Linked DNA regions of Homo sapiens: region 2 is linked to region 1. The links are contacts of gene promoters, found by promoter capture Hi-C in blood cells and fetal thymus (Javierre and others, 2016). All regions are on one chromosome and are shown on one strand. The core of a region is centred on a gene start or on the middle of the fragment in contact, and the rest is flanking DNA. Distances in the headings are between cores, read along the strand shown.

The links. The method cuts DNA at HindIII sites, captures the fragments that hold promoters and counts their contacts. A CHiCAGO score of 5 or more calls a contact.
Region 2: the fragment with the promoter of VPS50 here is called in contact with the fragment with the promoter of TP53TG1 in region 1 in 1 of 17 cell types (total CD4 T cells); the score reaches 5.7 in total CD4 T cells.

What each region holds. Positions count from the first base shown.
Region 1 is chr7:87,341,978-87,348,743 of GRCh38, forward strand. It overlaps TP53TG1 (TP53 target 1), which reads right to left and starts at 3,515. Exons shown (of 3, transcript NR_015381.1): 1 at 3,066-3,515. It overlaps CROT (carnitine O-octanoyltransferase), which reads left to right and starts at 3,687. Exons shown (of 18, transcript NM_021151.4): 1 at 3,687-3,790; 2 at 4,363-4,453. RefSeq lists a silencer at 3,503-3,712. The HindIII fragment of the contact is 3,653 bases long and covers 687-4,339 here.
Region 2 is chr7:93,228,513-93,235,301 of GRCh38, forward strand. It overlaps VPS50 (VPS50 subunit of EARP/GARPII complex), which reads left to right and starts at 3,854. Exons shown (of 28, transcript NM_017667.4): 1 at 3,854-3,988. The coding sequence starts at 3,956. It also overlaps a transcript of HEPACAM2 not described here. RefSeq lists enhancers at 3,555-3,624, 3,765-3,934, 4,025-4,074, 4,315-4,374. The HindIII fragment of the contact is 4,774 bases long and covers 1,467-6,240 here.

The sequences.
Region 1 (6,766 bases), core at 2,265-4,764:
CCTCCTGGAAAAATTGCTGTGTTTTTCACTTTCTGTTCAGGACCACTACTAAATGCTGAAATGTGGATGCATACCAAACTAAAAGTGATTCGTTGTGTACTAAAGTTTTTTAAAATTATTTGTGTAAAATCATCTTTTGAAGCAGAATCAAGTCTGAAAAGCAACTGATGTTTCCATTAATCTTTTTCTGGGGAAAACCTCAGTTCTAAGGATTTAGCATCCTGTAAGTGAAGTTTAACATAACAGTATTCCATAAGCAGCCTTTTTATGGTCAGACCATTGCCTAATTTTAATATAATTTTAAAATGTGTGCATTAATTAAAAAATGGGAAAAGGATCTTAATAAACATTTCTCCAAAGAGGATATATAAATGGCCAATAAGCACATGAAAAAATACTCAACACTCTTAGTCTTCACAAAAAAATGTAAATCAAAACCACAAGACACCACTTCACATTCATTAGAGTGGCTGTATTTTTTTTAAAAGACAATAGCAAGGGCTGTTATATTGTTATTGTAACTAAAGGCACAGAGAAATTGAAACTCATATTGCTGGCAGATATGTAAAAACGGTACAGTTCCTTTGGAAATCAGTTTGACGGTTTTTGAAAATGTTAAACATAGAGTTAACATACGACCCCACAACTCCACTCCTAAAATACTAATTGAAAGCCTGTTCACACAAAGCTTGTACACAAATGTTTATAGTACCATTATTTAAATAGACAAAAGGTAGAAACAACCCAAATGTCCATGAACTGATGAATGGACAAACAAAAAGTGGTTCATACATTCATCAGTCAGTTGATGAATCATGTTTAATGCCTGTTGGTAACACAGAATTTAGAGCCACTTTGCTTCACTCTTTTCCCAGTCTTGTTATTTATTTCAATGGAAACAAAATGTTCCTGTAAAGATGCCTGGATTTTTGGATATAGAAAAAGTTGTGGGACTGAAAAAAATGAGTGGAACAGAGATTTGAGTATGTAGAAAATAATCTTTTTAAATATTTGAACCAAATGTTCTAAAATTAGCTTATGGTGACTGCATAACCCTGTGAATATAGTAAAACCATTGATTTGTGGACTTTAAATGGCCGAACTTTATGGTATGTAAATTATATTTCAACAAAGATGTTAACAAAATTTTTAAATGTTATATTTTGTTTAGTAAGAAGGTATTTTTTTCTGAGATGCAAAAACATCATAGTTATCTTAACTCTTCCCCTCAGATTTTGGTGGCAACTTTTCATGTACTGTAAATATCATCAAAAGCAACCCCAAATCAATGATTAGTACTAAAAAGAGACCTTTTGTATCAAACACTGTTCATCTGCTGTTGGCAGTGGAGTTCATTTTTAATGCTACATTGCCCTCTTTGCGTCCAGTGTACTTTAATTTGCTGTTGGCTGCTTCCCAAAATGACCATATTTCTACTGCCCCCCCATTAAAAAGAAGAAACATCACAAAATTATTTCTTCAACATGTTCATTTTATACATCAGAATGAAAGGAGGTTACAGGTCTCCCATAGATTAGGGCTATTTACCATATCTCCTTACTTATTAGAGTCACAAATCTTAGCAGGAAGCCAGTTATGCAGATTGAAACATGAACTTCTTAGTCTAGCATTTTAATACTTTTTAATGGTGAAATTTATCTAGACTTATCTATAAAGTCTTTTGCAATTTGTGGTATGCTGAGTAAGAACTACAGAAGAACAAAAATAAAAGATTTTTTTAATGGCAACTTAAAAAATTATCACCACTTGTACTACTTACAAATTTTCCTCCAAAAAGTTACTTTGACTCATAGTCAATTTTTAATCTTGGAACAACTTCTTGCTATCACAAATACTTCAAGTGCCTAAAACATCTTCCTTACCAGCCAATATCTCCCGCTCCACTCTAAGAAATGCAAACTCGTTCAAGTTTAACCTGAATGCAACATAATTTGGAATCTTTCATTAAAATATATATCACACATTTTGAAGCCAAACATATTTTAAAATACCTGTTTTTGGTGATTTGGGGTACATATGCTTATCAGTATAACATATTTTAAAAGATTTTTTTCTACATACTCAAATCTGTGTTCCATTCATTTTTTCACTCCCACACCTTTTTGTCTATCCGATAATTCAGGAATCTTTACAGAAACATCTTGTTTCCATTGAAATAAACAACAAGAGTAGGAAAAAGAGTGAAGCGAAATGGTTCTAAATTCTATGCACCAACAGGCATTAAACATGCATAAACTTTTAAAGAGATGCCAAGACTCACTAAAAAGGAGAAAAAAAATACAACGAAGGTTTCTGAGTAGTTTTTAGTTACTCAATTTAAAAACTTTATCTTGTAAGCAAACTTTAACATCATCCAGAGCATCGCACTTATATATGAAAGAAAAAGTTCTTTATCACACCTTCAGAAATTACAACTACAAATTCCTAATCCCTTATTTAAAATCTTTTTGGCTAGATATGTTTCAAAATTCAGAACTTTTCTTAGAATAGTACGTCTGCCATATATTATGAAACACTTCCAGCAAGCTGTACTGTAATCAAACACAATATTTCTGTAGAAAACTTATGAATATTTACACAAAGGGAACATTCAGTTACACATAGCCTCACTTCCCTTCAGGTCAAACTTTACTGCTAAAGGAGTTAGAAACGACAGACAAAGGAATGGGGCCTGTCATGACATGTTAATTTGAAATCTAAATCTTTATCTTTGATAACTAGTTCAGAGTCAGTGTAAACATTTGGTCTTTCCTTCCACAAAAAAATGAAACAGTGTATTTAAAATTAAAAATGAAACAGTATATTTTATTTCAGAAGGTAAAAGCAAAATGAATTAATCTGTGAAACTAAGTCAATCACATTATGATCTTCTAGAACTTGGGTAGCTCCACTCTGGTTAAAGATTCCATTTCTTGGCACAACAGTAAAAGACATCAGATAGGCCCGGGGGTAAGCATCCCTGGGGTATTCAAATAACTTGGGTAGCAATGAAGAGCTGCAGAAGAGCAAGGAGACCCGAGATGATGTAGTGTGCTGCGGCATACCTGAGTTGGGCAAACTCAGCCTCCGAAGATTAAAGGAAAGAGCCCAAGTAGGAATCTGTGTGATCACTGTTCTTTTGCCAAGACACGGGGTGGACAATAAGATTCCTTTACAAAGCACTGGTGTAAGTGTTCGCCTGGTGCTGCAAAAAGCGGCTCACTGGGAATGGGGAGGAGCGTGTGGTAAGCCAGACCTGCGGCGAGAAGTTGGGTGAAAATGGGTCTTAACCATCGCTTCCTGCATCTATCCCAGAGGGTTGGGTACCTTCGTGGGCGGAGCGCGGCCTGCCCAGAGTGCCTTCTAGATCCTGGGTCAGGCGCCAAGCTCCCCAGCATCATGCAGGAAGCTGCAGCCCCGCAGAGTTAGGACAGCTCATTTGGCACCCGGCGAGCCCTTCCCAGGCCCGCAGCCCAGAATAGAGCCGGGGCCCAAGACGCCCACTGGAGACAGGGTCGGGTCCCACTACCGCGCAGGCCCGGCTCGCCCCCGACGTCAGGCACGGGGCGGGACCCTTGCAGCTGTCCGTCCAGTCCCGTTCCCCGGAAAGTGAGGGGCGGGACCCTCGCGGCTTTCTATCCAATCCTGTTCCCCGGCGAATGCGGGGCGGGACCCTAGCGGCCTTCAGTCCAATTCCCGCACCTTTGAGGCCCAAGGGGGAGCGAGCCGGTGCTGCTGCAGGCTGAGGCTGCGGCAGAGGCGGCGAGGCGCGGGCGGTGAGGACGGACAGGTCCGTTGAAGCAGCATTCCCTCCCTCCCCTAATCCTTCAACTCGGGGGCGGGGGAAAGTTAAGTCGTGCAGAACCGCAAAGGTGCCTGGATTTGGTGGGGGAGTAGTGTCATCAAGCATCTCGCCTGCTGGGGTCTCAGGGGTACCCTCAAGGTTGGGCCGCGGGGCTGCTCCGTTGTAGTGCTTAGATTTCTCTCACTTGATGGCCTCTTGAGTGCAGAGTTGCTCTTGGGTTGGTGGGAAGAGCCTCCGAGCTCTCATTGCCCTCTGCTCCTGCTTCTACCCCTTGCCACTCTGCGACGAACCTGTTACCCAGCCACTGAAAACGTATCCTCTACCCTTTGAACCCGTCTAATGGAAGGTGTACTTGTCTGAAACCTACTTAATTGTATGATCATTTACTCCTGCTCTCTAGCAGGTGGACTATTTGCGTGTGTTTGCAGTGATTCACGAAAAGTTTGTCTTGGGAACTCCCAACTCCTAGTTTGTCTGCATTCCACCTTCTTTCACTAGCTTGTTCATTTCTTTTTCCCTCTTAAATATTTGTTAAGCTTGTTTCTTTCTTCCCACAGTCACCGACTTAGTCCAGTTCCCTGTGATCTCAAAACAATTGTTGCAGCAGGCTCCTGGCAGTCTCAAGCAGTTCATCTTCTTGGTGTACTGGTATGTGACAATTCCTTCACGTATTGTTCGTGGTTCTTTTCCACTTTCTGTGAATTCATATCTAATTGCCCCCAGAAAGTCAATTCTAATTAAATCTAGCATAATCATTTTCTTAGTGCTATTGGAACCATCTTATTTAACTTAATCTTTGTGGTTGAGAATTCAAGAAAACTCTTCAAGAAAGAATCCAATAATTTATATTTTTAATGTGTACCGGTTGGTGGGTTAAGCACTATAGTGGGTATGTAACTAATACTCTTGCTTCCAGTTTTCTAGAGTCTATTAAGTGGCACAGAGGTAAACAGAATAGCTTATCTTCTCTGTATGTGTGTACTAGTCTTCTATTGCTGCCTTAACCAATTACACAAATGCAACAATTAAAACAACACAAATGTATTATCTCATAGCTTCTGTAAATGTGAAGTTTGGGTGGGCTTAGCTGAGTACTTGGCTTAGAATTTCACAAAACCGAAACCAAGGTTTCTGTAGATTTGGATTCTTTTCTGGAGGCTCTAGGGGAGAATCCACCTCCAGGCTATTTCAGATTGTTGGTAGAATTCACACTGACATTTCTATATCCTTACTGTTTGTCAGCCTGAGCCTCTTTCAGTTCTTTAAGGCCATCTGCATCTTCAAAGACACCACAAATCCTTCTCAAGCATTAAAGCAGTCTTACTTGTCTGCCACTGGCCAGAGAAAGCTCTTTGCTCTTATGGACTCAAGTGATTAGATTAGTTCCAATTCGATAATATCCCTATTTTAAGGTCAGTTCTGTAGAGAATATCACAATCACAGGAGTAATGATCTCACCATATTCGCAGGTTCTGGGGATTAGCAGGGGTGGAATCTTGGGGGCCATTCATAGTAATTGTGCCTACCACAATATGGTGGTTTCAGGCAGGATTATTTTGTTTTTATAATGTGCTTTCACAGGCATTGAAAACAAATTCTGACTTTATTGAATTGTATGATTAACCACTCTAAGATAAGGAAATTCACTTAAAGTTGGTTGCCCTAGGGGCACATGGCTAGAAAGTGGCAGAGTCTGTACTTGGATCCAGATCTACATTTCCATTAGGTACAAACCCATTTTTATGGATGGTCAAAATGGTGTGCAGCCAAAGTCAATAGATAGAAAGAAGCTAAAGAACTTTGAGTTAATTATTATTTCTCATTTTCAAATTATCTCTTTATATTAGTGGTACAGGCTAAGCTCTTCTCCCTACAATAGAAAGCCCAAAATACAATGGTATGAATAAAATAGAAGTTTTTTTTTTTCCATACATCTAGAGGTAGGAGTCCAGGACTAGTAGGGAGATTCTGCAATCCTGCATATATGACTTCCATAAATGAGGCCATGGTGCTGTTTAGTTCGTCACTACCTAGCAGGTAGTAAAAAGGAGGGAAAGTGCAGGGAGAACACATGCATTCCTTTTTGGGAGCATGACCTGGAAGTGACACACACAAGGTCATCACAAAGCCACACTGAGCTCCAAGAGAGGGTAGGAAAGATAAAACTGGGGGCTGTATGCACAGCTACAACTCAGGATTCTGTTAAAGCAGAGGAAAACAGGTATTAGCTGAAAATAGTCTCTTCTGTGTCCATGTTTTTGATAGTGTTCGATTCTGTAACCTATGAGTGGAATACTTTGTTTAGCGTTGCTATCAGTTTTAAAAAATAGTTTTTGAGAGAATAGGAAGTTCAAATTCAATATTAACGTTCTTTGATTTCTCAGTTGCTATTTTAACATATAATTACATTTAATATATTACATTATTTAATATAATTAATATATGATAATTTACAAAGGCTTTGAGAAACCTCATTTTTTATTTAGCATTTGTATACCTTATTCACATTTTGAGTTAGATTTCTTTGATAGCAATTAATACACGTGTCAATATGTTCAAGATTGCTTTGGAACACTTGAGACCATTCTGTGTAGACCTCATACGACCTGTGCAATTAAAGCAGCTTGTCATATGATTTATGTATTCTATAATAATCTTTAATTCTACAGTTGGACACTTCCACACCTCTTTGTACTTTGTGCTCCAAAGTTTTCTATATCAATGCAATATCAACACATAATCCTTTTCTATACATCAAATACTATCTACCCACTAAGATTTACTGCAGGTTCCCTTACCTTCTATCATGTTGTTTTGTATAGGGGAAAGATTGTAGTCTTAACAGATCTGGGTTTGGGTCCTGTGTTTGACATTAGGTAAGTTACTAAATTTCTGAGTTTTGATATATTCATATGTAAAATTGCAAAGAATGCCACCTTTCAGAGATAACATAAAAGTTAG
Region 2 (6,789 bases), core at 2,604-5,103, 5.9 Mb after region 1:
TGCTCAAGCTTAACTTCAACAATTGTTAATTTTTACATGATTCTTAAAAATAGTTTGAAGGTTTTATAATTATAAGAATTTTCCTACCATCCATATCTCACATCACACCTGTAACCCACTGGGAAGTTCTGCTGTTATCATTCCAGTCAGGAAAAAAGGGCCTGTAGTGTTACTGTTTACCAATCTTAGTTATATTTGCATTTAAAATGAGAAGGCTGATTAACCTAAAACAATCTATATCCACGGTGATTAAACTGCAAGCAATGTAAGGAGCCACTGGGATAGAGTATGCGTGTGTGTGTCCACGTGCATTTACAATGGGATATGGACACATATACTCCTGTGCAGGAGGGTGTGTGTGTGTGTGTGTGTGTGTATGTGTGTGTATGTTTGTTGGGGGCAGGGATTTTTATTACCTCTCAAATCACACTACACAGTTTACAATCTAGTTTATTTAAATTGCAGACTGGTATTACTTCATACAGTAAATGTCTGCTGCATGCATTTCAAACATCCACATTTTTAATCACAAGTAGCTAGCACACGCATGTTTTGCAGTGGCAGAAACAATTAAGGAGAGGTGGTGAAATGCCAAGGTCAATGTAGATGCAGAACAGTGGGGAATAAGAACTGGGGAAAGAAATGTTTCTTATTGTTGTAATTAGTGGATTCTCTCCAGTTTACAGGGAGAGTTAGCTGCCAGAGGAGGCTATCACATATGCCTATGCCTGTGCTAGTGTTCACTTCTGTAAAGTCTACAAAGCTGCCTCGTGGAAGCCTTGATCTATCTTATATGGCTGCTAAATACTAAGCAGTAATGTCTTCTTCCTGGGCACCTCTTTAGGTCACTACTTTACCTTTGGCAAGTGTTCTGTTTTCTGTTATGGCCTGCTCAAGAAGTGTAGTCATATCATCTTGGAGGGGCTGCATCTCTCCACTGCTTTGGTATTTGTGGAGTGGTAAGAAATTTTATCTTTCTAATCAAACCAGGATCTCAGCTTTTATTTAAGCTTCCAGACATTCCTCCTGTTTTGGGCCATTAGTAATATGCCCTTATCCTACTTTACTACTAATCCTATTGTTCTGAATCAGATCAATTTACTTAACTCTTGGCTCTGCACTCCTTTACCAAGGAATTGGTATCCAGCCAACCTTCCCCAGGATTTGGTGGCAGACCATCTAAACTTTCCATTATTTTGCACTGGACTATCACTAACAACAGCTCTCAGGTAAATGTGAAAGTCCTGAATAAATCTTAAAAATAAATACCTTTTTGAAAATTGGAAAGGAAATAGCAGCATGTCCAACCTTTTAAAAAGTGTTTGTTAGGATGCCAAGTTTTTTGTTTTTTTGAGCGTAGACAGATAGAAATGAATAACGTAAGGTTCAATTATTTCATATAGTGTTAAGGTATGCTGAATTAGAAAATATAGTTTATTTAGACACCAGCGCTGATTTACTTTACAAGCTTTCAATATTATAGTTATAGCCTTAAAACATTTAGAAGACTGTATCCATTTTTATCCATTTCTCCAGTTTGTAGGAAATAAACTAAAATGTAGAGTTTTGGAGTAAAACAAAGTTTCAATACTTTCTTGCGTTTTCAGTGTCGAATAGATAGGGATAACACTCATTTTTCTGAATTTGGCCAATAGAAATACACATATTAGATAAAAAAAACTTTTTGGGGGGATCATCTTTAACTTTGTGTATTTGAGTATGTGAGGGAGAAAATTCCGGGGTTGAATCTGGGTTCTAGTCCTAGATCAAGCTCTCATGAAATATGTGGTCTCGAACCCTTATACAGATACGTTTTCTCATCTTTACAGCATGGATTTGACATGCTAGAGCTGGACTGCCTTTAAGAATCACTGAAGATTTTAAACAAACAAACATCCCCAAAGAAAACAACAATAATAACAGCACACACCTCAGGTGAATCTGAACAGTCAGGTTTGAGATCTACTGAACTCAGATCACCCCTAAGATATGCTTTTAAACCCAGTTGTGAACTCCTTGTGACCACAACCATAGATTATTAATCAAAGTGCTTATTTTAGTGTTGCCTTGAGCGCAACAATCAAGAAATGTTTATTGACTTGGGTTTTATTTTATAGGCTAATATGGCTGGCAGTTTTTGTTTCTTTTGATGCTTTCAGGGACTTCTAAATATTGCAGATTTTCACACACAAAGAACAGTCTGACAATTAAGATTAGAGAAGGTAAAGAATAAACTAAACTAGACTTGCCCTAAATGTGACCAGAATTTCTTGAAGGGGTTAGAAATAACAGAGTCAGAGAAGCATATAGGTAAACATATAATTTCAAAGGAATTGCTGAACGCAGTGATGATACAAGTATGCACAAGGTGGTTCTGTTGGAGTAGAGAACTGGGCAGAATCAAAACCAATAATACCTCATAATTGTATAGTGCTTTACAATTTATACATTTCATTCACCTACATCATCTCACTTATCCTTACAAAGCCCTATATAAAATATTAAAATATTACAACCTCATTTGTAAAAATTAATAAAACGAGGCTCTAAGGGGTGAGAAAATAGAATTTCAGAATCAGAAATAACCTCTGTTAGTGTCCCCCAAACTTCAGTCATTTGCAAATCACCTTTATTAGTTTTGCCATATCTGACTACCACCCATACTATTGTTTACCTAGTATTTTTTATTACGTTGACACACTTGAACTTTTTTTATTCTAAGAAATATTTTTGAAATTATGGGTCTGTGTCATACTTTTAGAAGTTAACATTATAATAAAATAAACTTAAAAAAATTGGTGCCATGCTTTAGAACTTTCTTCAGCACAATACATGAAAATCTTAACACATCTGATGACCGATTAATCCTTCAGTTTCTACTTGCACATCTGCAGTAATCTTAGGCAAGTTCCTTAATTTCGCCATACCTGCTTCGTCATCTTTAAAATGGGAACCCACAGGATTCTTGTGTGGATAAATGAAATCATATATTTAAAGCTATTAGCAGTTCCTGACAGGTACTCGGCTTTCGATAAGTGTTAGCTATCATTGTTAGCTTTAGGGCTGCTTTTTCTTCTTCTTCTCATATTCTCATAATTGTAAAGTCCTTTTAAAATTGTGTCCCCAAAGACACTTCTGTTCCTTTCCCCAATTTAACTAAACTGCCAAAAGTTGAAAAGAGGACTTTAAAGTGACAGGTATACTCGTTATTGTCGTATTTCCCGTCATCACTGCTTTAGAGTACGGAGGTAAAATAATAGGCGGGCGTCAAAATCCTTCGATTTTAGAGCTTTTGCAGGGGATACCAAGACTGAGGTAGAACAGCCCTAAACCTGGAGGGCCGCCTATTGGGCAACCTAGAGCACACCTTTCCTCAGGCCAAACCCAGCGCGCCCGGGGTAGTCTCGAGTTCTCAGGTTACCCCTCAGTGACAGCCCTTTCTTGAGTTCCTTCTCCTTCGCGTCAGTCTCTCGTTCTCCCACCCCGCCCCTCTAGACCAGGTGAGGTTTCCTCCCTCACACTCCTAGGGGACATCGCGTCAATCTGGCTTATATATTGTCTCCTCTGAGTTTGATCTTTCGCTCAACGCCTAGTCACCTGTGACTTAGGTTTCCGTCTCGCCGAAGAGTAGCTACTGCCTAGTGCAAGCACCTTTGTAAGACCGGCGATCGCAGTGGTCGCTCTGAGCAGTAATATTTACCGGCTTAACTGAAGCACCCGCTCTTTTGCTTGCTGGGAGATGTAGTCCCTGGGTTGGCCACTTTAGTTCATCGTTGCTACCGCCGGCGTCCAGAAGACTACAGTTCCCAGCAGGCCCAGGGAAAGACAGGATACCCTGGGTCGGCTCCTCCACGTGACCACCCACTATGGCTTCCTAGTGTCAGGGCCAGCTGTGTAGTGGCTCGGTGTGATTTGTTAGCTCTTTGAGGCAGGGTACCCTCCTCAGGATTTCGATATGCAAAAAATCAAATCTCTCATGACCCGACAGGTAAGTCGCGGCGGCTGAAGCAAAGGCTTCCTTCATCTCGGAAGTGAGAGGAGCCGAGATGTTCTGTCCCCAACCAGTGGCGGGCGGGGATCTAAGTTATGGGTGGTGGCAGGTGTCAGGGGGACTGGGAAGCCGGGGCATACCCTAGAAAACTCACCTGGGCCGCCTGGGTTGGAGCACTGCTCCAGCGGGTACCAGCCTCCCAGAAATATTCGTTTAAAAATAAGTCATTGAAGGAATCAGGGTATCTTTGTCTCCCCTCCTCCTCTTTTTGCCGTCTTTCCAGAACAGCCCGAGCTTCCTTGCAAGGTCTTCCGCATCCAGGCTGTCTGTCATATGCGAGCTGATAGCCTGGGTAGGGTGGTGTGGTCTGTGCAGTAGAGGTGACCTGGAAAGACTGAAAACGGATGATTTGAAGACAGAATTAGTAGCTTTTGGATTTTGGGCAAGTCCCCAAACTTTGTAGCTTACGTTTCTGGATGTGAAAATAATTATTTTTGTTCATTTTACTTCACAGTTCTGTTATGAGGGTCATCGATAAGCTAATATATGTGAAAACTCTTTGTGAAATTCTGCTTTAAAAAATTTATTTTTGTCATGGCAAAATACTGATCTTTTCTTTTTTTTCCCCAGAATGGAAATTCATGAATAAGAGCTTTGGCTATTTTGTAACCTGTCTCATAAATGTTAGGGACCTCGTAATAATGCCTCAGCTTCATTTAAGAAGTGCAGAAATTTTCTTTTATGTACTTATTGATTATGACTTTGTTTTAGCTGCCTTTATTTACTTCAGCTTTAATATTTCACTAGAATTGGTCATTTTATTATTTTAATATGAAAGATAGTTAAGATTAGAGTTTTAAATCAACATGGCTTTTAGAAGTTTGGAGAATGTGGAAGGTAATCGTTTAGTGAAAGGTATATTTGTGAGTTTTTTTCTTGTTGATTACAAAAATAACTCAAATTCCACATTCTTATTTGAGAATTCACAATTTGAGAGATATATAAACAGGATACAAATTGTGTATTTCTCTTGCACAATGCACAAATGACCCTTACATGATTATTTTAGTTATGTCAGAGCATTTTGTTAATGTTATGAAAATATAATCAAAATGTTCTGTGAATAATAAAAATATTTAAGTAAGTGGCTAGTAACATTTGTTAATTCCTCACATGTGTTGAGTACTGGTGTTGTGCGTCCTACTACTTCTTACTTGACGATGAGTTTGGGTCCTGCTGTATCCTGTGGCAGCTGTGTGACTTTCGGCAAGTTACATAACGTTTTTAAGCATCTATTTCCACATCTTTAAAATAGGAATAATGTGTGCCTTATGGAGTTAGCCTGATAGTGGTGTTTACATGATATAATGAAGTTAAAGAGTTTAAGGCGTTAACGGAGTTCCTGGGCATTATCAAGGAAGTGCTTGAACGCAGAGACCGTTAGTTACATTGGCTATGTTGATGGTGGGAAAGCAGGAAAATTGGAAGCAGGCTGTTGCAGTAATTCAAGCAATAGATAAGTTCATGCTGACTTCGGTACCTGTTTGATTTTTAAATCAATATATACTTTTGTACTTTATATCACTAATACCTCTAAACTGCCTTTGGAATGCTGAATTTGGACTTTTGTGCATCAGCTGTTTGATGCTGTCTCAAGTTTGTTGCCTGCCATACAGTTCAGTGTAGTTAACGTTGTCATAATTGTATGGTAGCTGTGGTTGGTTTAGTTTTTTTGACCTCATTTTGTAAAACTGAGGAGAGAAAAAAATTTCAGATAGCAGTGATAAGTGTATGTCTCCTAAATGTAATGCAATTGTGCTGAAAATGGTAACACTTAAGCCTTAGTCAGTTGCTTATTGAATTTCAGCAGGTCAAACCTGTGTTTAATTGAAATGGAAAAAAATACATTAAAGAACACATACAAAAAGCTGGAACCATACTGTGTACAAAGTGAGGTAAAATTAGGAGTTTTGCATACATATTTAAAGTTATCCTAATTATATATGTTATGGCTTGACTTTCACATATTTGATACTGATGCACAGTTCCTGAATCTATGAGGTATGAAATTAGTGTGCCTGCTATTTACATTGAGGGTTTGAATTAGTACAGTTTATTATTGGGTTAAATTTAATAGGATTACAAGTAAGTATACATGAAAGTATTTCTTTTTTTGAACCTATAGAATGTGCTAATAATATATATTGAGTTAATATGGAGAGATAGGAAATTAAGGTCTGTGAAATTTAAGCTTTGGGACATTTCAGCTGTCCTGGGATCTTTGTTTGCAAAATAATGGGAGGAAGGAAGGCTTTGTTAGCTCTCTTTATTTAGATGAGATCTGTTCTTCATCTTTCTCCATCATGCTCACCTCTGTTCTTTCAGTCCATTCAACAAATGTTTATTGAGCAATTTGTGCCAGGTACTATTCTAAGTAAAAAAAAAAAAATAGACAAGTGTTAAGGCAGACACGGTGATAAACACTGTAGAGGAAAAGAGGATAGAAAGTCCTGGGAATTGTTGGTGATTTGAGGTCACTTATAATTTTAGATAGGATGGCCACGGAAGGCCTCACAGAGAAGGTAATATAAAAAAACCTGAAGGGGGTGAGGAAGTGAACTCTGTGAGGTAGATATTTGGGAAGGAGCATTTCCAGTGGAAGGAAAGGCAAATGCAGAGGTCCTGAGGCAGGAGCTTGTTTGAGAAATTGCAAGTGGCCTGTGTGGGTGAAGTGAGTGAGGAGAAGAGTAGTGGGAGATGAGGTTAGGATGAGGTTAGATGACTGAAGGCAGGAAGCT